Regions from separate parts of the Homo sapiens genome. Here regions 1, 3, 4, 5 and 6 are each linked to region 2. Evidence: promoter capture Hi-C in human tissues and cell types (Jung and others, 2019). All regions are on one chromosome and are shown on one strand. Each heading gives the region's core, a stretch centred on a gene start or on the middle of the fragment in contact. The rest is flanking DNA. Distances are from core to core; before and after follow the strand shown. Region 1 has its middle 52 kb from the start of ASIP. Region 2 holds the start of NCOA6 (nuclear receptor coactivator 6). Region 3 holds the start of ERGIC3 (ERGIC and golgi 3). Region 4 holds the start of RBM39 (RNA binding motif protein 39). Region 5 overlaps UQCC1 (ubiquinol-cytochrome c reductase complex assembly factor 1). Region 6 holds the start of UQCC1 (ubiquinol-cytochrome c reductase complex assembly factor 1).

What was found. The method cuts DNA at HindIII sites, captures the fragments that hold promoters and counts their contacts. A contact is called where the count stands out against the background at its distance.
Region 1: a fragment that was not itself captured here is called in contact with the fragment with the promoter of NCOA6 in region 2 in 2 of the 25 tissues and cell types used here (IMR-90 fibroblasts and lymphoblastoid cells).
Region 3: the fragment with the promoter of ERGIC3 here is called in contact with the fragment with the promoter of NCOA6 in region 2 in 1 of the 25 tissues and cell types used here (bladder).
Region 4: a contact is called between the fragment with the promoter of RBM39 here and the fragment with the promoter of NCOA6 in region 2, in 2 of the 25 tissues and cell types used here (dorsolateral prefrontal cortex and hippocampus).
Region 5: a fragment that was not itself captured here is called in contact with the fragment with the promoter of NCOA6 in region 2 in 1 of the 25 tissues and cell types used here (lymphoblastoid cells).
Region 6: a contact is called between the fragment with the promoter of UQCC1 here and the fragment with the promoter of NCOA6 in region 2, in 5 of the 25 tissues and cell types used here (heart left ventricle, heart right ventricle, hippocampus and 2 more).

What each region holds. Positions count from the first base shown.
Region 1 is chr20:34,187,146-34,191,438 of GRCh38, forward strand. It overlaps a transcript of ASIP not described here. Among named protein-coding and RNA genes, the nearest start is that of ASIP, 52 kb to the right of the region's middle. The HindIII fragment of the contact is 6,445 bases long and covers 1-4,293 here.
Region 2 is chr20:34,823,796-34,827,717 of GRCh38, forward strand. NCOA6 (nuclear receptor coactivator 6) reads right to left here and starts at 1,856. Exons shown (of 15, transcript NM_014071.5): 1 at 1,677-1,856. RefSeq lists silencers at 1,323-1,762, 1,773-1,962. The HindIII fragment of the contact is 14,831 bases long and covers 1-3,922 here.
Region 3 is chr20:35,539,944-35,543,799 of GRCh38, forward strand. ERGIC3 (ERGIC and golgi 3) reads left to right here and starts at 2,135. Exons shown (of 13, transcript NM_015966.3): 1 at 2,135-2,242; 2 at 2,380-2,450; 3 at 2,570-2,657; 4 at 2,879-2,998. The coding sequence starts at 2,155. RefSeq lists an enhancer at 1,807-1,896. The HindIII fragment of the contact is 35,337 bases long and covers 1-3,856 here.
Region 4 is chr20:35,740,943-35,745,135 of GRCh38, forward strand. It overlaps RBM39 (RNA binding motif protein 39), which reads right to left and starts at 1,318. Exons shown (of 17, transcript NM_184234.3): 1 at 999-1,318. RefSeq lists a silencer at 698-797 and enhancers at 1,058-1,207, 1,221-1,906, 1,268-1,487, 1,658-1,757. The HindIII fragment of the contact is 31,582 bases long and covers 1-4,193 here.
Region 5 is chr20:35,377,410-35,381,631 of GRCh38, forward strand. All of the region lies in intron 4 of UQCC1 (ubiquinol-cytochrome c reductase complex assembly factor 1), which reads right to left. Among named protein-coding and RNA genes, the nearest start is that of UQCC1, 32 kb to the right of the region's middle. The HindIII fragment of the contact is 4,785 bases long and covers 1-3,829 here.
Region 6 is chr20:35,409,906-35,414,067 of GRCh38, forward strand. It overlaps UQCC1 (ubiquinol-cytochrome c reductase complex assembly factor 1), which reads right to left and starts at 2,068. Exons shown (of 10, transcript NM_018244.5): 1 at 2,035-2,068. The coding sequence starts at 2,058. RefSeq lists enhancers at 1,400-2,223, 1,814-1,913, 1,974-2,123, 2,224-3,046, 2,254-2,303. The HindIII fragment of the contact is 20,339 bases long and covers 1-4,162 here.

The sequences.
Region 1 (4,293 bases), core at 607-3,106, 640 kb before region 2:
GAGGCACAAAGGAGAACCAATCAATCAGTCACTTAGAACTTGCCATCAGTGATCCACAAAGGGGTGTGAGAGTCATAAATAAATAATTCTGGTGGTAGTCCTAAATTGGTTCTTTTTTTTGTATTTGGTCATAGCACTAAACTAGGCTGGGAAGAAAGATTCTCGGGGCAGAATTCTGAAATCTTTGCCTTAGCTGTGTAACTGTTCAGAGAGGAATTTCTTTTCAACTTGTCTTTTCCTTTGGCCTCTAAAGTTCTTCTCAGAGAAAAAATCAATCCCCTGCTCCAGGCTAGGGCCAAGTGTGTAAGGTTTGTCAGTTTAATCTCTGTCCACAAGCCTAATCACTTTAAGCTGGCCTGTCCTGGGGCTGAGAATCTACTGACGGTGTTTTCGTCTTTCTCTTAGGAGGATCGTGAATTTCCTAAACTGTCTTTGAGAGACTCAGATATTTTATTTTATAAATGGCAGTGACAGATGTTATGTATCCATTGCTAATGTTATCTGTACAAAATCAAGAAGATATATTACAGTGGATACAAACCTAGAGTGCCTTTTGGATATGGCAGGTGAGGAGTGTTCCTTGATGGTTTGTTTTCAGTTCAGTGCAAGACACTCCTGAAGCACATCACTTACTATAAATGACCTTTAAGAGGAAAAGATACTTTGGAGTTACTCTATCACTTGAAAATGGGGCAGGACCATTACAAGAGTAAATATAGTTATTTATGAAAAGCCAGATCTCCAAGTCCAAAAGGAGAGAAATAACTATTATTCATATAGTTCAGTCCTTAGAACCAATTCTCCTCTGCTGTGTATGGCATTTCCACATCTTGTTTAGACTTCAGGCTGAGCCTGTAATTGTTTGGCTGTGGGAAATGAGGGAGTGTATTTCAGAAAACCCATCTTCCCCTCGCACTTCCAGGGTCCTATTCAGATCGACTTGTTCTGCTACCATTTTACCCATACCCAGCATCCCGATATTTATTGAGCATATTTATGTGTGCCATTCTATCCTAGTTCCCAAAGGGGATACAAAAACGAAATTATACGCAAGATGGTAGAGCATTTACACAAAATCGTAAAGGAGGTGAAGTTGGCCAGTTTAGTTTTTTCAGTTTACTTGGGGAACTCATTAGCCTGCTTTCAGCCCTTTTGTCTCCGAAAGCTTAGAACATGTACTGCTGGTGGTATGTGAGATGGTTTAAGTTAAACAGAAGATGACTTTAGGCGGTAGATGGACAAGCATAAGATTATCACATCATGGAAAAGTAATTTCCTTTTTAATTTGCTTTCAAGCCTGGATTCATCTAGAAGAAAGTCTCAGTGGGGGTTGATGTGTCATTAACATATTCCAAAACTTATTCCCTTTTAACATATTCCTTTTTAATCAAGAAAATAGACCTCAGAACTGGAGTGCTCTCCTGGTAACAGTAGTTATTTAGAATTTATTGACATTGTATTATTAATTTTTTCTAGGATTATATTCTGTTTATGAAAAATGACAGTAACATGCTATAAATTTTCCAATTTACACGAATGTATTTAAGCTTTGAAAAAGTTATTAGTTGATTTAAAGAAAAATATTGAGTAAATAATAATATAGCTGGGTTGGAGATATGGTTGAAATCCTGACATTGCTATTCAAATGACTGAAGTTTGGGAGACACTTCTTTCCCCCACCCGGAGCCCAAACAAAATTACTATTTGTGACCCATTCCTGCCCTCTGCTTTACCTAAACCAATTCAGGATCATGATAATGACCAATAATATAATAAGAACCATACTTCTCCCTATAAGCATTATGATAGGGCTCTGAGATCTTTAACCTAAAGAGTCATTTTAATGGTAGAAATTTCTAAAAAGACAGGATAATATATTTGTAGTAGATGAAACTGTCACAATAATGACACTATCGAGTGCTGTCATTTAGACTTTTTGAGTATTCTCTAATTCTCACAACGACCGTGAGGCATTTTTCAGATGAGAAAACTGAGGTTCAGGGAGGTTAAACAAAACCTCAAGCAATAAGGAGCAGAGCCACGGTCTGGTGCCTAGAACTTCTGGCCATGTGGGTAGCTTAACTGCTCCCCCTAAGGTTTGTTTTCTTTTTTTTGAGATGGAGTTTTGCTCTTGTTGCCCAGGCTGGAGTGCAGTGGCGTGATCTCGGCTCACCGCAACCTCTACCTCCCGGGTTCAAGTGATTCTCCTGCCTCAGCCTCCTGAGTAGCTGGGATTATAGGCATGCACCACCACGCCCGGCTAATTTTGTATTTTTAGTAGAGACGGGGTTTCTCCATGTTGGTCAGGCTGGTCTCAAACTCCCAACCTCATGTGATCCGCCCACCTCGGCCACCCAAAGTGCTGGGATTACAGGCATGAGCCACCACACCTGGCCCTGCTCCCCCTAAGTATTAGGCAAACCCTGGAGAAGCCACACGGATGAACAGCCTGAGGAACTCAAGGGAGCATGTGAATAGGTGCACAATAACACATTATAACACAGGGAAACTCTGAAATACTATGGGAGGAAGTACGTTCAGAGTAGGTGAGACCAACTGAAGGAAGTGGGGACTCTACCAAAGGAGTCACCTCATTGCATTTATCTCTGCCTTGCATTCTACCCCTCTGCCTTACAGACCTCCTTGTAGGGCCAGGTCAGGCTTCATGTCTCCCACCAACCCCAGTCACTCAGAAAGGAGCAAGTACTCTGGTTGCCATATTTCTGTCTCTGGAAAGGATGCCTGTCTTCCCAGTTGGGAAGACCATTCCTCAGCTCGGTCCGGTGGACTGCTGCCTGTAGGACATGCAGAGGCAGGCAGGCTGCATCTGCTTCTGGAGATAAGCTCCCGCTGCAGAGCTTTTGTCAGGTTGGCCACTGTCCCGCAACAGCCTTTCTAACCCAGCGCCATGGACCAGCTATGCTCTTCACCAATAGCCTAGGCAAGAGCTTCAAGTGCTCTTAGGAGTCATTCCGTGTGATGCTAACCTGGGGCTTCAAGCCTACCATTGGGAATCACTATCCCTTGTGACACTGTGTCCAGGCCCCACCTCCTGCCTGTCCGATAGATTGGATTTCTTGCAGTGTTGGCATCATCCCAGTCACACCTCGTTTTACCAGGTATTTTATAGAACCTCCCAGATGAGAATTAAGATAATGAGTATGAAAGATAATGAGTATGATAATGAGTTGAGAAATTCCAAAGCCCCAGAAAAATACATAAGATGATATCACCAAACCTTTCCGCCCACTCTAGAGTGTAGTCCTTGGAACTCAGCCCTTGTCACTATTCCCATTTTCCCTGGGTGATCTCATCTGTTCCCCTGGTTTTAATTACTACGTATATGATAATAACACTCCTATCTGCATGTCTAGTTTAGATCTCTCTCCTGACCTTTAGATTTTTATTTTGACAGATTCCTAGATATCTATATTTCAGTGTATTCCACAGATACTTCAGAGTAAACAGAACTCACCCCCTTCCTCACTAAGGCTTCCTCTTCCTTCGGAATTCTGTATCTCATCAAGGTTTCTGATGAGTCTCCAAAGAGCTCCAGCCGGAAGAAACACACACATCCCATGCAGTCTTTTCTCCATACCAAGTGCAGAGCTGAGCTCTGGTGTGGCCACCGGGAGGCAGTGCAGACTTGAGGATGTGTTTCGCAGCAAGGCTTCAGGAGCCCCAATCCTGAGCAATCCCAGTCCTGCATGCAACTTCTGCCCAGCTTCCTTTCCTCTCTTTTTCAGGGAATGTCTTTGTCTGAGTCCACCATTGACTCAGGCTCCTATTGAATTGGTAAGGGAGGGACTGGAATGGGGCCCAAGTGCAAAGCTCCTTCACAGAGCAGCATGCACCCCCATATGCACATATCCTGGAACACTGCCTGCCTTCAGCTCCTGAGAGGCACAGTTCAACAAATCAAGCTGGAGGCTTCTTTGAGCCAGGAAACCTAAAAGACTTTAAAGGAAAGTGTGGAGCCTGGTGTTAAACAGGTATTACTTTGTTCCCTGACATACAGGTGGTGGAAATGTCACATTTCTTTAATTTTCTAAATTAAATACCCTTGGCTTCCATCCAACAATGAGTAGCAAATCCAATCTTGGTCCTTTATCAGGAGCTTACACATACTGGGGGGAAGATGTCTCTTAGATGAGGGTGCCTGTCACCCCTGGCGCTCTTTGCCCAAAACAATTCTACGACCCTTTCTCCAGGTTTCTCTATGGCATGAAGACCTCTGCTGAGGCTCGGGATCAGCAGTGCCTTTGCTTACCTCCCTGAGCACACTGTCATCCC
Region 2 (3,922 bases), core at 606-3,105:
AGGCTCAAGCGATCCTCCCACCTCAGCCTCCTGAGTAGCTGGGACTACAAGTACAAGCCACATCAGGTGGCTAATTTTTTTTATTTCTTTTGTAGAGATGGGGTCTGCCAGCTCCTGGGCTCAAGAAATCCTCCCACCTTGGCCTCCCAAAGTGTTGGGATTACAGGCGTGAGCCACTGTGGCTGGCCGGAGCACCTCTTAAAACTCTAGAAAGTTAGAAGGTCTCAAAGATAACTTCTTTGCACAATTAGAGATGAACCAGGAAATACCAAATAACTGGCTGCCTATACTTTTTTGTATTCCCTTCAGCCTTTGTATTGCCACACTCATTACAGGAAGAAAACAAATTTAATAGTTATCTGGTATATACTGTTATGCTTCATTTCTTGTTGTTTTTGTTTGTTTGCTTTTAGTTTCATCACAAGAATGTTATGCTTCATTTCTTAACACCTTTCTCCCAGCTAGCAAATTCCTTTAAGGCAATGTGTTTAGTGAGGAAGCAGCCGACAATTTCTAGTACCCCTCTGCCACTAACTTGTAAGATCTTGAAAAGTCAACTTTACCTTTCTATGTTTCAGCTAAAATCACTACCTGATTTGAAATCTTTACTTGATCTCTCAGGCCTTTGTAGTTTTTATACATTCACTCTTCTTCACCATTTTACTGGCTTCAATAACGCCTTTCTGATGACCTCTCCAGGTGACTCTGCTCTTAAGCTGTGGGCTGTCCCCTTCCAGGGAAGACACCTTGGGTCACCGCCCCCAAACAGCCAGGTCCCTCCTTTTAAAGACACACACAACTCCCTAAGTTGATAAAGGTTCTCTCCTTCCTTGCCAACCAGTTCCACTCTCTGTGCCTCTTTTGCTGGCCAGCTCCTGCACCCAAACCTCAGTCTCCCTTTGTCCCCCTTTTCTCTCATCAAACACCTCCTTTTTCCTGTTGCTTCCCCCAAGAGGGGGTGGAGGATGCTTGGGACATAAGTCTTCAGAGCCTTGGGAGTTATACAGCTTTGCAATTCAGCCCCAGTACCCCAAGGACTGCCCCAATCTGAACCAGCGTCTGTACCCAAAGGGCCCTCATTCCTCATCAATCACCTCCTTCCCTCCCAGCAAAGAACTGCTCCAGCCCTGACAGCCTGAGCTTGGCCCCCATGCCTCCACCCCAATCCCCAGGTCCTACCTGCATTAGGGCTCTAACACCGCCTAAGGCCTAACCCAGTTCCACGTCCTGCCATCCTCTCAGCCCATAGACCCCAATCCCGGTTCCCTTCGGACCCAGTGTTCCTTCTCCGCGACCCTGACCACGACCCCACGACCGGCTCCCGCCTGTTCCCCAGGCCTGGAGCGCCACCCCGTGCAGACCCCGGCCAGCCCTGCACTCCCTCAGTGCACCGGCCCCCGCGCCCAGCACCCTCCCCACCCAGCCCGGCCGCCGCTCCCTCCAGCGCCCCCGCCCGCAGGCCTGGGGCCCGCTCCCCAACATGGCGACGGGGACACAAGCGCGGCGGGCGGGGCGGCTCCGGGCCGGGCCCGCTCTCAGACCGTGCCACTCGGTCGCCCGGCGCCATTTTTCCGCGCGGGCCCGGGCGGCGCCTCCTCCCCGCGAAGCCAGCCCGACAAGGACCGCGGACGCCCGGCGGGCCCACCCCTTACGGGCCCGCGCCGCCGTCCCCTCACCTGAGCGCGGCCCCGGCCCTCCCGGGCGGGCCTTGGAGCGCCGGCCCGGGCCGTGCGTGCCCGCCGCCCTCGGTGCGTCCGTCCGTCAGTCCTCGCGTGCGCCCGTCTGTCCCGCCGCCCGCGCCCGGCCGCCCGCAGCCCGACCCGGCAGGGCCTCACGGAGCCGGCGGGGAGGGGGATGGGCCGGACCGGGCCGGGGAGGGAGGGGGAGGGAGGGAGAGAGGGAGGGAGCGCGAGAGGGGGCGGGGCGGACTCGAGGGGCGGGGCATTGCCCACGTGACCAGACGTCCCCGGGAGCGCGAGGTGGAGCGCGCGCCAGCTCCCTTCGGTGCTGAGTGCTTAGTGCTGGGATCTCGTGGGTCTCTGTCGGCTTTCCAGGGCTATTCTCTCGCCAGTGAGTCCCACTTCGGAAGCACACATTGCACAGTCTTTTGCGAGCGCTCTGAGTATCCTTGGACATGGCAACTCCAAGCCTCAGTTTACCCATCTGAAATATGGGGAAAATCATAGTGCTTGTGAAGAGCAAATGGAGGTGGGCTTGGAAAGCACTTGTCACCGTGCCTGACACATACTGTCTAATAATAAGCTTAATGGGATATAGATAAAAGCTTTCATTATTATTTGCCTCTAAATCCCTCTCTTCTTTTTCCCATCATTACCTCCCTAGCAAGCTAAAATGCTCAGTAAATAGAATTATTGATCGAACGAGTGTGGCCCCTCCCCTCTTCCCAAACGTAGAAAGGCCTCCTCAGCACTGGACTTCATGTCTGTCATACAGGCCTGGATTCATATCTGGCTTTCACTCTTTTTTAAAAATTTTCTGTTTTTTCCCACACTACACTGATGTATTTTTTAAATTTTCGTAAGTACGTAGTAGGTGAATATATTTATGGGGTACATGAGATTTTGATACAGGCATGCGATGTGTAATCACATCATGGTAAATGGGGTATCTAGCAACTCAAGCATTTATCCTTTGTGTTACAAATAACCCAATTATACTCTAGTTATTTTAAAATGTACAAGTAAATTTTGTGTGTGTGTGGTTTTTTTTTTGTTTTTTGTTTTATTTTTGTTTTTTTGAGACGGAGTCTCACTCCGTCGCCCAGGCTGGAGTGCAGTGGCGCGATCTCAGCTCACTGCAACTTCCGCCTCCCTGGTTCAAGGGATTCGCCTGCCTCAGCCTCCTGAGTAGCTGGTACTACAGGCGCATGCCACCACGCCCAGCTAATTTTTGTATATTTTTTAAGTAGAGATGGGGTTTCACCATATTGGCCGGGCTGGTCAGGAACTCCTGACCTCATGATCCGCCCGCCTCTGCCCCTCAAAGTGCTGGGATTATAGGCGTGAGCCACCGCGCCCGGCCAATTGTTTTTTACTGTAGTCACCTTCTTGTGCTAGCAAATACTAGGTCTTATTCTTTCTAACTATTCTTTTGTACCCGTTAATCATTCCCACTTCCCACCTACCTCCCCATTAATCTTACCAGCCTCTGGTAACCCTCCTTCTATTCTCTATCTCCATGAGTTCAATTGTTTTAATTTTTCGCTCCTGGCCCGGCATGGTGGCTCACGCCTGTAATCCTAGCACTTTGGGAGGCCAAGATGGGCGGATCACCTGAGGTCAGGAGTTCAAGACCAGCCTGGCCAACATGGTGAAACCCTGTCTCTACTAAAATACAAAAGCTAGGTGGGCATGATGGCGGGTGCCTGTAATCCCAGCTACTCAGGAGGCTGAGACGGGAGAATCTCTTGAACCTGGGAGATGGTGGTTGCGGTGAGCCTAGCTCGCGCCACTGCACTCCAGCCTAGGTGGCTGAGTGAGACTCCGTCTCAAAAAAAAATAAAAAATAGTTAATTTTTTGCTCCCACAAATAAGTGAGAACATGTGAAGTTTGTCTTTCTGTGCCCGGCTTCTTTCACATAACATAATGACCTCCAGTTCCATCCATATTGTTGCAAATGACACGATCTCACTCTTTTTTAATGGCGGAATAGTATTCCATTGTGTATATGTACATTTTATTTATCCATTCATCTGTTGATGGACACTTAGGTTGCTTCCAAATCTTGGCTGTTGTGAACAGGGATGCAGTAAACATGAGAGTGCAGATCTCTTCCATACACTGATTTCCTTTCTTTCCGGTGTATACCTAAGAATGGGATTGCTGGATTGTATGGCAGCTCTCTTTGGCTTTCGCTCTTGATAGCTGTCCTTGCCTCTCTGAACTTGAGCATCTTCATCTG
Region 3 (3,856 bases), core at 885-3,384, 720 kb after region 2:
TTCAGCCTCTGATTTGGTCGCAGGCCAATCCTTCATAGGTGTAGCCAACTGGAGGCTTCTAAAGGGCACCTAGGGGTGTTGCCAGGTCCCTTTAGCTTAATACAAACCCTGATTGAGGAGGCTCTTGAGCAGCTTGCTCTAACCAGCTGCCGCTATGAATCGTCTTCAATAAATCTATGCTTTTGTTATTCCGTTCTTCTGTTGCTGTTTGTCTTTCGTTGCCCTTCTGTTACTTTATGTGTTTTGTTCAACACGCCAAGAACCTGGACAACTCTATGCTGGTAACAACTGCAGGTAACCTGGTAACAACTGCAGTTTCAAACTCTCCTGGGCTCAACCCCAGCCTCCCAGGTAGCTGAGACTATAGACGCATGCCACCACACCTGGCTAATTTTTTTATTTTTATTTTTATTTTTGGAGACAGAATCTCACTCTGTCGCCCAGGCTGGAATGCAATGGCATGATCTCGGCTCACTGCAACCTCCGCCTCCCAGGTTCAAGCGATTCTCCTGCCTCGGACTCACAAGTAGCTGGGTTTACAGGAGCACACTACCACGCCTGGCTAATTTTTGTATTTTTAGTAGAGATGGGGTTTCACCATGTTGACCAGGCTGGTCTCAAACTCCTGAACTCAAGTGATGCTTCCTGGCTCGGCCTCCTGAAGTGCTAGGGTTACAGATGTAGTTTTTAAAGTTTTTGTAGAGTGGGGTCTTGCTGTGTTGCCCAGGCTGGTCTTAGACTCCTGGCCTCATGTGATCCTCCTCGGTCTCCCAAAGTGCTGTGATTACAGGTGTGAGCCATTGTGCCCAGCCCAATTTTTAATTAAAAAATGGAATGATGGAATGCACATTACTTTGCATCTTTTCCCCCTTAAAAATACATTCTTAGTATACCTAAAGGAGTAAATCTACCTCATTCTTTTGAAAAGTGGCCTAATATTCCATAGAATGGGTGTATCGTGATTTATTCAATTTATTTAATGTATCAGTGGGCATTCTGGCTGGTTCCAGATTTTTGCCATTGAACAATCTCATGCATACATCTTTATGATGTGGTGCACTTAAAATCTTTAAGAGACAGATTCAATATCTTAAGGTGTAACAACCACCCAGATCATGGTACTTTTATCCTTATATTAAAATTTTTTTCTGTTAACCTTGGATAGCTGCTTACATATTTTTTCTTTTTCAAAATTTTTCTATTAACCTTGACATGGTGCTTTTACTTCCTAAAGTGGAATTCCTGTATGAAAGCCTATGAGCTTTTATATCTTACTCATTGCAGCTGCATTACTGTGGGAGCTGTCCCTCTAGAGACACTGGGCTGCAATGGGAAGTGTCAGGGAGAGCTTAAGCTCCATATCACTTGAGTCTAAACCTGGAGGGATAGAGCGTGTCCGTGAGGATCCCAGGGCCTGGAGAGCAATTTAGGGTAATATTCAGAAAGCAGCGCTCAGGAGAAGCACTGGGACGCTGTTTAGGTAAAATCAACCCAAAAGACCCTGATTCCCAGAGTACTTTGAGGTCCAGAAGAACTGGGCTGGAAGCAGGTCCTGCTATTAATTGGCTGTGATCTTGGGCAAGTTATTTAACTTCTCCAGGTCACAGTTTGCTCTTTGGAAAACGGAGATAAGTCACACCTGCTTTCAGGGCGGACACCCTTACTTTACATCAGAATCATCCGATGCCATTCCTAGCGTTTCGGCTTCAGTAGGTGGGAATCAATTATTTGCATTTCTAATAGGTAATCAGTTGATAATGATGCGGCCGGTCCGGTACACTCGAAAAACCACTGTTCCAGGATATTCCAAGATGTTCCAAGAGTCTTAAACACCTGGTGCAGTTCCGAGCACAAGGCACACGAACGGTGCTATTAGCGTTTCTAACCCCGCAGAGAACTCCTCGCACCCCAGTCCTCAAAATCCCGCCCCGGACAGCGGAGGCCGGGGCAGTAGCTTCCAGACCCAATTGCCCGCGCAAGGGGGCGTGGCAGCATCGTTGGGCGGGGCCGCCTGTAAGAGAACGCGGCTAAAGGTGGGGCCAAGCGTGCGGTTTGCTGCGCCTGCGTGAGGAAAAAGAGGGGGGCGTGGCTCCAGGCCGGAAGAGGGAGTCTGTAGGGGCGGGCCGGCTGGCGTCCCCTTTCCGGCCGGTCCCCATGGAGGCGCTGGGGAAGCTGAAGCAGTTCGATGCCTACCCCAAGACTTTGGAGGACTTCCGGGTCAAGACCTGCGGGGGCGCCACCGGTAGGCCGCAGCGGGGCCGGGGTCGCGTGGAGGGGGGCGTCCTAGAGCTTAGCCCGGGCTCCTGGACTCTGACTGGCCTGCCGGTGTCTGAGGGAGCGGATTCGAGGCCATTCTGACCCTCGCCCCTTGTCCTGCAGTGACCATTGTCAGTGGCCTTCTCATGCTGCTACTGTTCCTGTCCGAGCTGCAGTATTACCTCACCACGGAGGTAAGGGGCGGGGCTTAGTGCGTGGGCGGGGCTTGGCATTCTAGGAGTAGGACCTTTAGGGGTGGGAGTGGGGAAGGAGAGGTTTGGGGCTAAGTCTTACTGAGGTAGCGCTGCCCCAGGTGCATCCTGAGCTCTACGTGGACAAGTCGCGGGGAGATAAACTGAAGATCAACATCGATGTACTTTTTCCGCACATGCCTTGTGCCTGTGAGTACCTCACCATGGGTGGGACTGGAGAGACCCAGGGTTCTCATGTGGGCTGCCAGATTCACACCTCCACCCTTAGGTTCTGGACTGGACCCCAGGACAACCTCCTTCTCCTCATCCCGTTCTGCCCCAAGACAGGCCCAGTATCCCCTTCCCCTCCAAAACCCACATCCCCTTGTCCCTAGGGTCCCAGTACCTTAGCCTGATTTTCCTGCTTCCAGATCTGAGTATTGATGCCATGGATGTGGCCGGAGAACAGCAGCTGGATGTGGAACACAACCTGTTCAAGCAACGACTAGATAAAGATGGCATCCCCGTGAGCTCAGAGGCTGAGCGGCATGGTAACCAGGGGAGGGGGCCGGGTCTCAGATCCCAAAGCTGGATGTACCCAAGCCTATCTGCTAGCAAGTGAACTGTGGCAGGCATAGTGATACATTAAACAACTAAGAGCTAGAGAAGTCAAGTGACTTGCCTAGGGTCCCCCAGCTAGTAAGAGTCAGAGTGAGCTAAAATCCTCTATACATATCGAGTCAGGTAATCTACCTGGCTATTATTCTCAGAGGTCCTCAATACCTGCAGATGGTAGTTTGAATACCAGAGGTTTGAAGATAGGTCTTATGTGCTCTTGCCTTGGTAGAACTGTCTAGATGGACCCAGGCTTCTTTGAGTGTTTGCTTTCCCAGCCCATTGGCTTAATTCAGCCCTTAATGCTCTTCCCCTTTGGAATGCAGGTGGTTTAATGAGAATTTAGGTTCTCAAGTCAGATTGCCTGGGTTCACATCTAGCTTTGTCTCCTGCAGTCTGTGAGCTTCAGCTAGAAAGTGGTAATAAAACAGTAGTACCAACCACATGGAATTGTAAGATCAAATGAAGTCATATGTGTAAAATGCCTGGTACAGAGTGGGTACCCACTTTTACCTTCCTTTCCTTTATCTTGGTGGCTTCCCAATTCCCTTCGTTAACTCAGTTTCCCACCACAGCAAACTGTCCTCAAAGCTGGGATTTCTAACACCTTAGAGATTACTCTGGTGGGGAGTTTTATCATTCGTTGTTTCAGCAGATTAATGCAGGACACCAGTGGAACCAACATAATTTGCTATAGGACTGGATGTGGAGTGGAGGAGAGCAAAGTCATGGTTGTTGATTCCAACGCTTTCAGCCTGAGCAAATGAATGACTTGAGATGGAGATGACTGGAGG
Region 4 (4,193 bases), core at 68-2,567, 920 kb after region 2:
AAGTTTCACTCTTGTTGCCTATATCGTCTAACATTTTCTCTAAACGCCTAGGAAAAGAACAAGACGATTCCGTGAGTAAACATTTTTCTTTTTTTTTTTTTTTTTTTTTGAGACGGAGTTTCGCTCTAGTTGCCCAGGCTGAAGTGCAGTAGCGCGATCTCGGCTCACTGCAAGCTCCGCCTCCCAGGTTCCAGCGATCCTACCACCTCACCTCCCGAATAGCTGGGATCACAGGCGCCTGCCACCACGCCCGGCTAATTTTTGTATTTTTGGTAGAGACGGGGTTTCACCATGTTGATGAGGTTGGTCTCGAACTCCTAACCTCAAGTGATCCGCCTGCCTCTGCCTCCCAAACTGCTGGGATTACAGGCGTGAGCCACCGCGCCCGGCCTGGTAAACGTTTTTCAAATCGACTGAATTTTTCTTCTCAGCCGACACACTCGAAAACTTAAGAAAAACCTCCAAAAGCCCTACAATTAATGACTAAAGTGACATGCACTTTAACCAGGTTTGGCTTACGTAAGTAAATCCAAAACGCCTCTTACACGAAACACACGAAAATGAAGACTTCAATATCCAATATTTAAAACTCTGCTGTCAACTCCAAAAACAGAAACTGGGAGACCCGAACGAGAGCGCCTCTTTCCGGGCAAAAACCCGCGCTGCCATTTTAGGGGCAAAGAGAAACTCCCTCCATTGGGAGGGGTTATGAGCCAAGGCAGCGTTCAACTGGCGCCATGTTGGGAGGTCGCGGCCGGCCCAGGCCTCGAAGGAGACAGGTCACCATTCTACCGCGGCCTCTCGGGGGTCCCTACCGCCCCAAGAATCCAGACTATACCCGACTGGAAAATAAGGGCGCGGTCACTGAAACAGGGCCGATTTCTCGAAAACCACCCCCCACCCCGGTCGCTAAAGACCTCCAAAAGCGCCCCTCAGCCCAAAATGGAGCCAAACCTCGAGAAAGCTGAGATAATACGCGGGTCCGCAACGCCCCGTACCTGTTCCGGCCTTCGGGCGCCTGTGGTGCTCGTGTTCGGGAAGAGATTGCTGCTGCTGCTGCTGCTGCTGCCGCCGCCGCCGCTTCTGTTGCTACTGTTAAGCCCCTAGGCCCAGGCCGCGGAACCGCCCAGCCCGAATATCGGGTTCCAAGGACGGCTAGGCCCGAGAGAATCTAAAAAAAACAATGGAATTAGAGAAGCCCACGCGGGAGAGCAGGACGGCGGCTTCGGCAGCTCAGGATCCACCCCTGCGACAGCGTCGACAAGCTCCCTGAAATGGCGGCCGCTGCTTCCCTGTACTCACATTCACCAGCACACATACACACACACAAACACACGGGGCCTCACAGAGCCCTCAGCACGGGCTCTCGCGAGAAGCTGCCCCAAGCTCCAAATTTGAGCGGCCGAAGTATCGCGAGACCTAAGTATGGCTCCGGCGACCGTAGCCCAATCTCGCGCAATGATTGCGCCACAGATATTCCCATCCCCCATTCAGTGAGGCGCCTTTCACTCCCCCTCCGCGTAAGCACCCAAATCTCGCGAGACAGAGCGGGTCTCTAGGGCAAAGACAGTTGGTAGGCTGCCTGTCAATCTTTCAGAGAGCTCTTCGCTGAGTGGAGCTCAGCGGTCACCTCCCCCTCGTGGCGCCTCCTCACGGCCATCTGAAGATTCCTCCGGCACAGCCGATCGCCCCCGCTCCGGCCTCCCACACAGATGGCTGTCAAGGTCGCCATAAGGCAACCTAGTCCTTATGGCGATAGGATAAAACGGCCATATTCAGATTATCCGCTGAGGGTGGAGAGGAAGTGGAAAAGTGTATCAGAAGGCCAGAAGAAGAGATCTTTAGGGGTAGGGGGAGAGGGGGAGATAATAAAAATAGATTTCCCTGTCATTTGGAGCCAATGGCGCGGCCTCCACTGTCGAGCTTTGAAACAACCTTGGAAATAGTGGAGAAAAGCAAAAAAAAGGTGGAAAAAATAAACTCTTGCTTCCCTTGGCATGGGATCAGTTTTGTGCCCCGAATTTAATCAGCTCTTGTGTCAGGGTTGCTACCGTTCCTTCAAAAATGTTCCCCTTCCTGAATATTACTGGACGATTTGGTGAAAAAATAAGACACCCCCCCAACAAAAAAAAAAAGGCCCCCTTCCCCCTGGGACCTGGCTCCTCTCCCCTGAAGTCTTCTAGATGCCAGGTAATTAGAGTATGAATTAGCCATTTGTTCTTTGGTCAGTACTGTGTGAGGTTTCCTCCTAGATGCTGGGAAAAAAAACTGGAAAGAAGTCTTCAAAGCAAAAATCTTACCCTCTAATCTTAACAGTCTAATGATTGAGGGCAGAAAAGATTGGAAATGAGACGCCTTGATTAGTGTAACTAGCTGCTGCAACACTGTGTGACCTTGGACAAGCAAATTAACCTCTCAGAGGGGATCTTTCATTTCCTGATTTAAAAGAGGACGTACTTAGTAGCTAGTCTAAGCTACTTGAGACTGAGGAAGGCAGGTAATGCTCAGTACTGAATTTTTAGAGGTTAGCAGGGCATGTCTGCCCAAGTGGACCCTCAGTAAATTAATGAATGAAGGCTCAGAAGGGCTATAGTGAAGATTAAATGATATAATGTCTGTAAAACGCCTGGTAAATATTTGATCTTCAAAACAGCTAACTTCTGTTTCTGCTAAACAAAATTATTTAGAGCAAATATAGATGTTAAGTGGTTTTGCCTCTCAGGTTAACTTTACACACAGGTTAGGATTTATCTTAGAGGATTATTAATAACAGTTATTTTGTAGTTAGAATACTCCCTTAATCCTTTTTCTGAAAATTCAGATCCTCTTTTTATTTTATTTCTGAGACAGTCTCGCTCTGGAGGCTGGGCGCAGTGGCTCATGCATCTAATCCCAGCACTTTGGGAGGCCGACGCGGGTGGACCGCCTGAGGTCAGGAGTTCAAGACCTGACCAACATGGCGAAACCCTGTCTCTACTAAAAATAAAAAAAAAACTAGGTGGCAGGCGCCTGCAATTCCCAGCTACTCGGGAGGCTGAGGCAGGAGAATCACTTGAACCTGGGAGGCAGAGGTTGCAGTGAGCTGAGATCATGCCATTGCACTCCAGCCTGGGTGACAGAGATCGAGACTCCATCTCAAAAAAAAAAGAAAGAAAAAGAAAGAAAAGAAAACTGTCACAGGAAATTGAAGCATAATATGTCAGAAATAAAGCAAGCTAACCTTTGCTATCTCTTCCTGCCCCTCGGTAATTCCAGTATTATGACTAGTGCAAAATGAAAGCATGAAGATGGCACTTGGTTTTTCTTGTTTGTTTAGGAACATGACATGACAGAATTTGACCTTAACCGCTAGACTTCTTGTTTGGGAAGAGGAAGGATTTAAGCTCTAAGTCGCTTGATGATTTAAGGTCCCTTAAATAGTTTTCTGCTCAAGGACCATCAGAGGCAATATGGCAACTTAGCAGATCATCAAGAAAAGCCGTTTGGAAAAATCAAGTTTCTGAAACAAGTATTTTTTATGTTTAAAAGAAAATATCCCCAGGCATGGCGGCTCATGGCCTGTTATCCCAGCACTTTGAGAGGCCAAGGCAGGAGGATTGCTTGAGTCCAGGAGTTTGAGACCAGCCTGGACAATATAGCAAGACCCTGTCTCTACAAAAAATTTAAAATTAGCCAGACGTGGTGATGCATGTCTGTAGTTCCAACTACTCAGGAGGCTGAGATGGGAGGATAGCTTGGGCCCAGGACTTCAAGACTGCAGTCAGCTAGAATCACGTGCCACTTCACCCCAGCCTGGGCTGCAGAGCAAGACCCTGTCTCTTAACACAAAAGAAAATATCACGAACATAAGATGCTTCTCATTCACTTTACAAAACTTCACTAACTCTGGTTCATGAACTTTCTATGTAAATTAATTCCCCTTTCATCATTTTGCTTTCAAAAGATGGAGGAATAGAGCTTGAAATAGAGCCAAAAAGGTAATGAATATACTTAGAGAATTTGGCTGAAAACTAAATGTATTTTACCAATGTGGATTTTTAATTTTTTAATTATTAAGGGTACATTTTAAATGTATATGTTTATCAGATACATGTGGTTTGGTTTTGTTTTGTTTTTTGTCCCCAACAATCTACAGCAAGTAGAATTGTTTCGTTTTTTAATTGAGACAGGGTCTCACACTGTCCCACAGGCTG
Region 5 (4,222 bases), core at 187-2,686, 550 kb after region 2:
TAATCTAATAATATCATGATCCTAATAATTTGGCCTTGACAGGCCTACTCCTATCCTTAAGACAGGGAGTTCAGGACATCTGCCCTAGCTCCTCACTTCATCCAATAATTCACTGAGTACATAACTCAGTGCCTGGCACTGATCTGGATGATGAGAATAGAGCAGTGGGCAAAACAGACAAAAATCTCTACTCTCATGGAGCTTACGGCCCAGTTCAGCTACAGACAAGTATGTAACTTTAACTAAAATTTCTAATCATCTATTTCTTGATTTTTTTAAATCTTGTAATCTCCTTCAGATTCCTATATATAAAGTCCTGGGTTCATAATTAATCACCTTGCCTGGAGACTTGCCTTCAAGGCCCAAGGCCCAAGTCTTTCCTTGAGAAGGAAGCTTCCCCAACAACACGTTTGTGAAAAAGCATTCATCACAAACAATGAAGACTTCACCAGATTGGCCAGAGTATGTTTTCAGTGCTCATGCTATGGCAATCAGGAGCATTTTATAGTTCTTCACTTTTCCTGCTGCAAGGCCAAGCCTTTATACTTGGGTGAGCCATTTTCCTGGACAAATCTCTAAAACAAGTCTCTAAAGACTATCACACAGAGACTGGAAATAATAACTTGAGGAAAGAACCTCATCAAGAATCATGCACTGATCTGAGTTAAGGACGTAGGGGGACTGAATTTTCAACCAGTCAATACAAGTTGTTCTGGTCCTTGGATGACTTCATATTTATTTCATTTTAATTTTAGAAGACTTCATCAGTCATCTTTTACTTGAGTAAAAGAGAGGCACCTTGAACAGCTTTAGGAAATGAAAATCTGCTCTCCCACGAACTAATGCATTTTTTAACATCCTACAGGATGAAAAACAAATCTAGTAAAATGCTTGCATTAACAGCTATGTAAGAGTTTGAAAGGGCCTGGCAAGGTGGCTCATGCCTGTAATCCCAGCACTTTGAGAGGCCGAGGTGGGCGGATCATGAGGTCAGGAGTTCTGAGACCAGCCTGGCCAAGAGACCAGGGTGGCCAGTATGATGAAACCTCATCTCTACTAAAAATACAAAAATTAGCTGGGCGTGGTGGCAGGCACCTGTAATCCCAGCTACTCGGGAGGCTGAGGCAGGAGAATTGCTTGAACTTGGGAGGCAGAGGTTGCAGTGAGCCGAGATCGCGCCACTGCACTCCAGCCTGGGCGACAGAGCGAGACTCCAACTCAAAAAAAGATAAAAAAGAGTTAGAAGGGTGTTTTAAGTAATTTGAACCTTCTATTGTCTACTGGAAATCCTTCTACAGCATTCTTGATTCACAGTCAACCATCTGGGCCTCTGTTCAAACAAGACCAATGACCTTGTAAGGCTACCTGTCCCACCTGAGGACAATTCTTGTTAGATTCTTATTTTGCTAAACTTAAAATCTGCTTCATATAACATTCATTGAACATTATTCTGCCCACTGGAATACCTTCTTTTTTTCACATTTGCCCCTCAAATACCTGAGAAGAATCATCCTGTCTTCTCTTTTCCAGGCTAAGCATCCCTATTTCCTTCAACCGTTCTTAACAGTTTCTGAAATGTTCATAAGGCTCACTGCCTACCTCTGAATACATTCCAGTTTGTCAGTGTCCTTCAGAATAGGAATAACTTTTTGGCTTAATGCTAATATGGAAACCTATTCTATGGCATGTGGCTGAGTTGGGTAAATATTGTGCTTATCTCACCTGATACTGCATATAAAGGTAATTTTTTAAAATGATGATTCCAAGATACTCAAATAGGTAAGGGAAAGCTACATTTAAGATCCTAAACATGATTATCAAACATGGGAATAACACATGAAACCTAAAGAAAAAGATAGAGAAAAGATAGCTGATACTGCTGATGTGGACAGACATGCAGGTATTTTACTCCCTAATCAAATACATGTGAAAACACAAAACAAATAATTTTGCCAGTGCAATCCAATACAAGTGCATTGATTTGAGTCAACATTGCTGAAAACGGTTCTGTTTTTCAAAATGAAAAGTTACACATACATTTTCACATCTCAATTACACTAGAATGTCATACGTTGATATTGTGATGTAACAAATTTTAAAATGAAGGTTATAGGCTGGGCGCAGTGGCTCAATCCTATAATCCCAGCACTTTGGGAGGCCAAGGCAGGCGGAATCACTTGAGGTCAGGAGTTGGAGACCAGGCTGGCCCAACATGGTGAAACCCCATCTCTACTAAAAATACAAAAGTCAGCCAGGTGTGGTGGCATGCGCCTGTAGTCCCAGCTACTTAGGAGGCTGAGGCAGGAAAATTGCTTGAACCTGGGAGGCGGAGGTTACAGTAGGCTGAGATCACGCTACTGTACTCCAGCCTGGGTGACAGAGTGAGACTCTGTCTCAAAAAAATAAAATTAAAATTAAATAAAATAAAATGAAGGTTATAGAAAGTACACACCATCACATCACAAGAGTTTTAAAATGCAAACATTAGGGATTTAGTTGATGTCACAAGGGAACCAAGAAAAATCAGAGGCTAACTTAGGCTAAAAGAGCAAAGGAATTTTCCTGATGATTTAGTAATCCTCCAAATGATAGCCAATTTTCTCTCTAGAATCATTAAAAAACAGCCTAGACAAAACATATGGTAGCAACCAAGTGGAACCCAATCACCAAGAAATGAATAAAACTGTAAATGTTTCTTTTCTTTTTTTTGTTTTGACTTCCCTCTTAATTTCTAATTTTCAAACAAAACATATACTTTAAGTTTGTAAATCCAAATGCCATAAGCATAACATTTTTTTAATAGGGGAAAAGATTCTGGTTAAAAACATTACCAAGTATATCAACAATTATCAAGTGTCAAAAATTAAGATATTAAAAAATACAACTTTAAAGAACATAACTAATATTTCATTGGCAATTAAGAAGATACTTCATAACCTTAGGGACTCAAGAACATCATTGTCAGTATTTGTGTTCTTTCTATATTTTTTCAAAGCTCCTTAAAAACAAAATGCTTGTGGAATTACTGTTCACTTTTCAGAATTCAGGTAAAAGAGTAATTATAGAGAGAAGCTCATATTTGCTGTAGTGAGAATTGTTAGAAAGAGAACCAGACACCATAAGAAGAAACCACAAGTAGAAGTCTATAATAAAATTGAAATTCTAATTTGAATCCAACTTGTTAAAATGGTGTAAGTGGCATTACTTGGTTGTTCTCAGTAAAGCTTATATATTTTCTAGAAAAATCTTCCCTACTGCTTTGAGTGGGCTTGCTTTGACTTATGACTGATTAGGCTTACCCAATATTCCAGCAACCCTGAAAGGCATTAAAAGGCACTTCTGCCATAGTGAAAGAGAGAAATGGTATTACAGGTTGAGTATTCCTTATCTGAAACGTGTGGAAACAGCAGTGTTTTGAATTTTGGATTTGGGGGGATTTTGGATGCTTTGCATTATACTTACCAGCTGAGCATCCCAAATCCAAAAATCCAAAATGCTCCAGTGAGCATTTCCCTGGGGCATCATGTCTAAAAACTCCAAACGTTTTAGATTTTGAATTTCCAATTTTCCAATTTGGGATGCTCAACCTGTTCTAGGAGATAAGTGGGCTGAGAAGAACTGAATCGCTGATGTTTTATTTCTATAATTGGTTAGAGGTATTATTATAAAAGCCCAGGGGCAGTATGCATCTGAGGCAGAGAGGACATTCATTCATTTATAGCCACTACTATTATAACAGATAATGTGCTAGGCCAAGAGTTGACTGGGAGTGACATGGTTAACAAATATCCCTCCATAATAAGAATTACAATAGATCGTGGGCTTAATTAGTTAATAAAAAGATGATTAGTAAAATTTTAAAGAAAATCCCTTATAAAATATGGGTCCATCAGAAAGTAATGCTTCCTTAAGAATGTTGCCAATCAGAACATTTGGCCCATCTGACCCCTCAGAAGTCATCTATATGGCATACCATGCAGCAAGGGCCTGGAAAGCCCAGTCTTGTTGCCATGCCTGCTACTATGAGATGCTTCTAAGGAATCAGGTGGAGGGACTAGTTCAGCCCCACATGTTGTATAGATCTGACTGGAAGCAGCAAGAGGTTGTGGCACGTGGGCAAAGATATTTTGAAGAAGTTATCAGAATAATGTATGGACCTTGAGAGCTTACTTGGGAGGTTCTGGCAGGGGAGTGCAGCTACTCATATACCCTTGATCAAAGA
Region 6 (4,162 bases), core at 818-3,317, 590 kb after region 2:
AGCAATTCTCGTGTCTCAGCCTCACGAGTAGCTGGGATTACAGGCGCCCACCACCAGGCCTGGCTAATTTTTGTATTTTTAGTAGAGACAGGGTTTCACCACGTTGGCCAGGCTGGTCTTGAACTCCTGGCCTCAAGTGATCCACCTACCTCAGCCTCCCAATGTGCTGGGATTACAGGTGTGAGCCACGGCACCTGGCCAGGAATACCTCTCTGTGGTTCAGTTTTCTTATCTGTAAAATAGAGGAAATAACACGCCCTCCTTTCCAAAGGGATGTTATAAGGATTAGGTAAGTATTTTAAAGTGCTTAGCACGTAGTAAGTGCCCTATAAAATGATAGTTGTCAGGCCAGGCTCGGTGGCTCATGCCTGTTATCCCAGCACTTTGGGAGGCCGCAGGAGGCGGATCATGAGGTCAGGAGTTCGAGACCAGTCTGGCCAACATGGTGAAACTCCATCTCTACTAAAAATACAAAAGTTAGCCAGGTGTGGTGGCAGGCGCCTGTAATCCCAGCTACTTGGGAGGCTGAAGCAGGAGAACTGCTTGAACCCAGGAGGCAGAGGTTGCAGTGAGCCGAGATCACACCGCTGAACTCCACCCTGGGTGACAGAGCGAGACTCCATCTCAAAAAAAAAAAAAATACAAAAATTAGTCAGGTGTGGTGTGGTGCATGCCTGTCATCCCAGCTACTCGGGAGGCTGGCACAGGAGAATTGCTTGAACCCGGGAGCAGAAGTTGCAGTGAGCCCGAGATGGCACCACTGCACTCCAGCTTCGGCGACAGAGCAAGACTCTGCCTCAAAAAAAAAAAAAAAAAAAACAAAACCCTAAAGGGTGGCAGGGGAAGGATTAAAAAAAAAAAAAAAAAAAAAACCACTAAATTCAGAACATTCTAATTGCCATTTCCCCAGCAGTCCTCATTTCTGAATCAATTTCTGGCCTGAAATCAAACAATCACTTCACCAGGTGAATCTTTCTGGCAGTTACAGGGGCTACTCTACAAATAAATATTTACTGAACAGCAGTCGAGGGTACCTCACTCTGCTAGGCTGGCAAGGAATACAAGAAGTAAAACTGTCGTCCTTGTAAGACATATATAAAAAGATCAAAAACACAAATGTAAAATAACAATTCAGAAGTTACCTAGACACAGGAATAGACCATGTCTACTATGAAAAACAGTGTCTTTGACCCAGTTTTTGAAGACTCGCTAAAACTATACACTCTCCCATCCCTCCATGATTAAAAACTAAGCTCTGTATCCTAACGTTTTTTCTGCTGCCACTTTCTTTTCTCCTTTAATTGCTAGAGAAAAGAGTATGCTAGAAGGGTCAGGACTAAATCTCAAGAGGTGCAGTAGTTTCACACACGGGTGCTAAAGAGTCTGGTAGTCTTTCCTTACTTCATTCATTTATTCAACAAGTAATCATTTAACACCTATGATGTGCCAGACACCATGCTAGGCAAAGTGAAAACGACGGAGACAGACATGACTCCAATTCTCACGCAGCTTTCAATCTAATAATCTATATTCCACTTAACTGTACAGTTAAGAACTGACTTATTACCTATGAAAGAAACCCTGAGAATCTCAGAATCTAAAGGGACTGCAGGAGATAAATGTCCTCGTTTTTCACATAGGGTCAATGAGGCCCAAAAGTGACTTGCTTAAAGTCACTATGCATCAGTGACAGTCAGGGACTAGAACCCAGGCCTCCTGAAACTCCAATCAGTGTCCTACATGCTCCTCTCCCTGAGGGGAAGCAGGTACATGGGGGAGGGAAGGAAAAGTAAACCCCATCAAATAAAGGCCAGATGTCAGTCTTCCCCTTCTCGAAAGATGGGGGAGCTAAGGTCAAAACGGGGTAGGAAGAGGTCGGAAGCTGCCTCAGTTTCCCCACGGAAAAGCGGCCACTCAGCCTAGCTATAACACAGGCTTCCCTCCTGCGATTCCTTCCAATTCCTCCCGCCCTGCCTTGTCGAACTCCAACCCGGGACCCAGAGAGCTACCGTAGAAAATTACTCCTTCACTCACAAGGACTCGCACCAGCAACGCCATGTTCCTCAATAACCATTTCCGGGTGAAGAGTGAGTTTCCGGTGTCCCCTTTTCTACGTCCTCCTTTTGCCGGCGAAAGACTGGCAAGGGGGGCGCAGGCGCAAAGAGGTCGCTACGCGCACGCGCTGTTGTTTTCTCGGCTGTGCACCAGGCTGTCGTGCCCGGGCACGCTCTCCCTGCTGTCTCCCCCACTACACGTAACAGTGGTTCAAATCCTTCCCCCACGCCTGTCTCCTTGACCCCAGACCTCGGGGCTTCTCATATCCCTCTCTTTATTCCCCACCTAACCCAGCCTCACTCCTCAGCCCCTCCTTCCCAAACTCCACCCCAACACTTTTCAATGGAGGTTGAAAAGAACAGGACTTTAGGAAATCCCAATCTTTAGAAAGAGCCAGAAGACCGGGCGCGGTGGCTCACGCCTGTAATCCCAGCACTTTGGGAGGCCGAGGCGGGCGGATCACCTGAGATCAGGAGTTCGAGACTAGCCTGGCCAACATGGCAAAACCCCGTCCCTAACTAAAAATACAAAGAAAGTAGCCGGGCATGTTGGTGTGTGCCTGTAATCCCAGCTACTCTGAAGGCAGAGGTTGCAGTGAGCCGAGATCGCGCCACTGCACTCCAGCCTGGGCGACAGAGCAGGACTGGACTCTGTCTCAAAAAAAAAAAAAAAAAAAAAAAAAAAAAAGCCAGAGAAGGAGGCTAAGATAAAAGAATACGGGGGATACCAGACTCCTGAAAGTCAAGGCAAGAAGGCGGTCATGTGCCGATCTGAAGCCTGGTAGAGGAAGAAACTTTTGGGATTTGTGGTTGGTTGGTTGTTTAAGGGAAACATCTTTGCATATTGATAGGAAAAGATTAGTGAAGAGTATACAGGGCCGTGCCCGGTGGCTCATGCCTGTAATCCCAACACTTTGGGAGGCCGAGGCAGGTGGATTGCCTGAGGTCAGGAGTTCAAGACCAGCCTGACCAATATGGTGAAACCCCGTCTCTACTGAAAATACGAAAAAAATTAGCCGGGCATGGTGGCGTGTGCCTGTAATCCCAGCTACTTGGGAGGCTGAGGCAGGGAATCGCTTGAACCCGGGAGGCAGAGGTTGCAGTGAGCTGAGACTGGGGCACTGAACTCCAGCCTGGGTGACAAAGCGAGACTCCGTCTCAAAAAAAAAAAAAAAAAAAGAGTATACAGGAGAATCAATCAAAGAGGCAAGGAGCTTCTTGAGGAAAGTGGCAGAGAACGGCCTTGGTAGAAGACTCCTCTTCCATTACATCCCAAGAGAAGAGAAGACAAAGTACTGGTGCTTTGGGGGTTGAGGGAGCAGAGGGGCAGGATGTTGAAGGACTTCTTTCATTTCATTCAGTCAACAAAGACCTATTGAGTCTTCCCTATGTGCTGAACACAAGACATACTGGCTTCATGGAGTTCTTAGACTGGTGGGGGAGGCATAGGAACCCAGTGAAAAAAATTAAAACTGGGGAGCTACTTTGGTTAGGTTGGTAAGGCCTCTCCAAGAAAGTGACATGTAAGATGAAATCTAAAGGAAGAAGAGGAGCTAGTCATGGGAAATAACTTCACTCGACTATTTTTTTAATTAAATTTATTGATTTTTATTAATTGACAAAAAATATATATTGTGTACAACAGGATGTTTTCTTTTTTCTTTTTTTTTTTTTTTTTGAGACAGAGTTTCACTCTTGTCGCCCAGGCTGGAGTGCAGTGGCTCAATCTCGGCTCACTGCAACCTCCACCTCCCAAGTCAAGCGATTCTCCTGCCTCAGACTCCCAAGTAGCTGGGATTACAGATGCGCACCACCACGCCTGGCTAATTTTTGTGTTTTCAGTAGAGACGGGGTTTTGCCATTTCGGCTAGGACGGTCTCAAACTCCTAACCTCAGGTGATCCACCCACATCGGCCTCCGAAAGTGCTGGGATTACAAGAGTGAGCCACCGTGCCCCCGGCCAGGATGTTTTAAAATATGTATACATTGTGAAATGGCTAAGTCAAGCTAATTAATATATGCATTACCTCATATTTTTGTGCTGGAAATGTTTAAAATATGTTCTTTAAGCAATTTTCAAGAATACAATACATATTCATAGTGGGTAT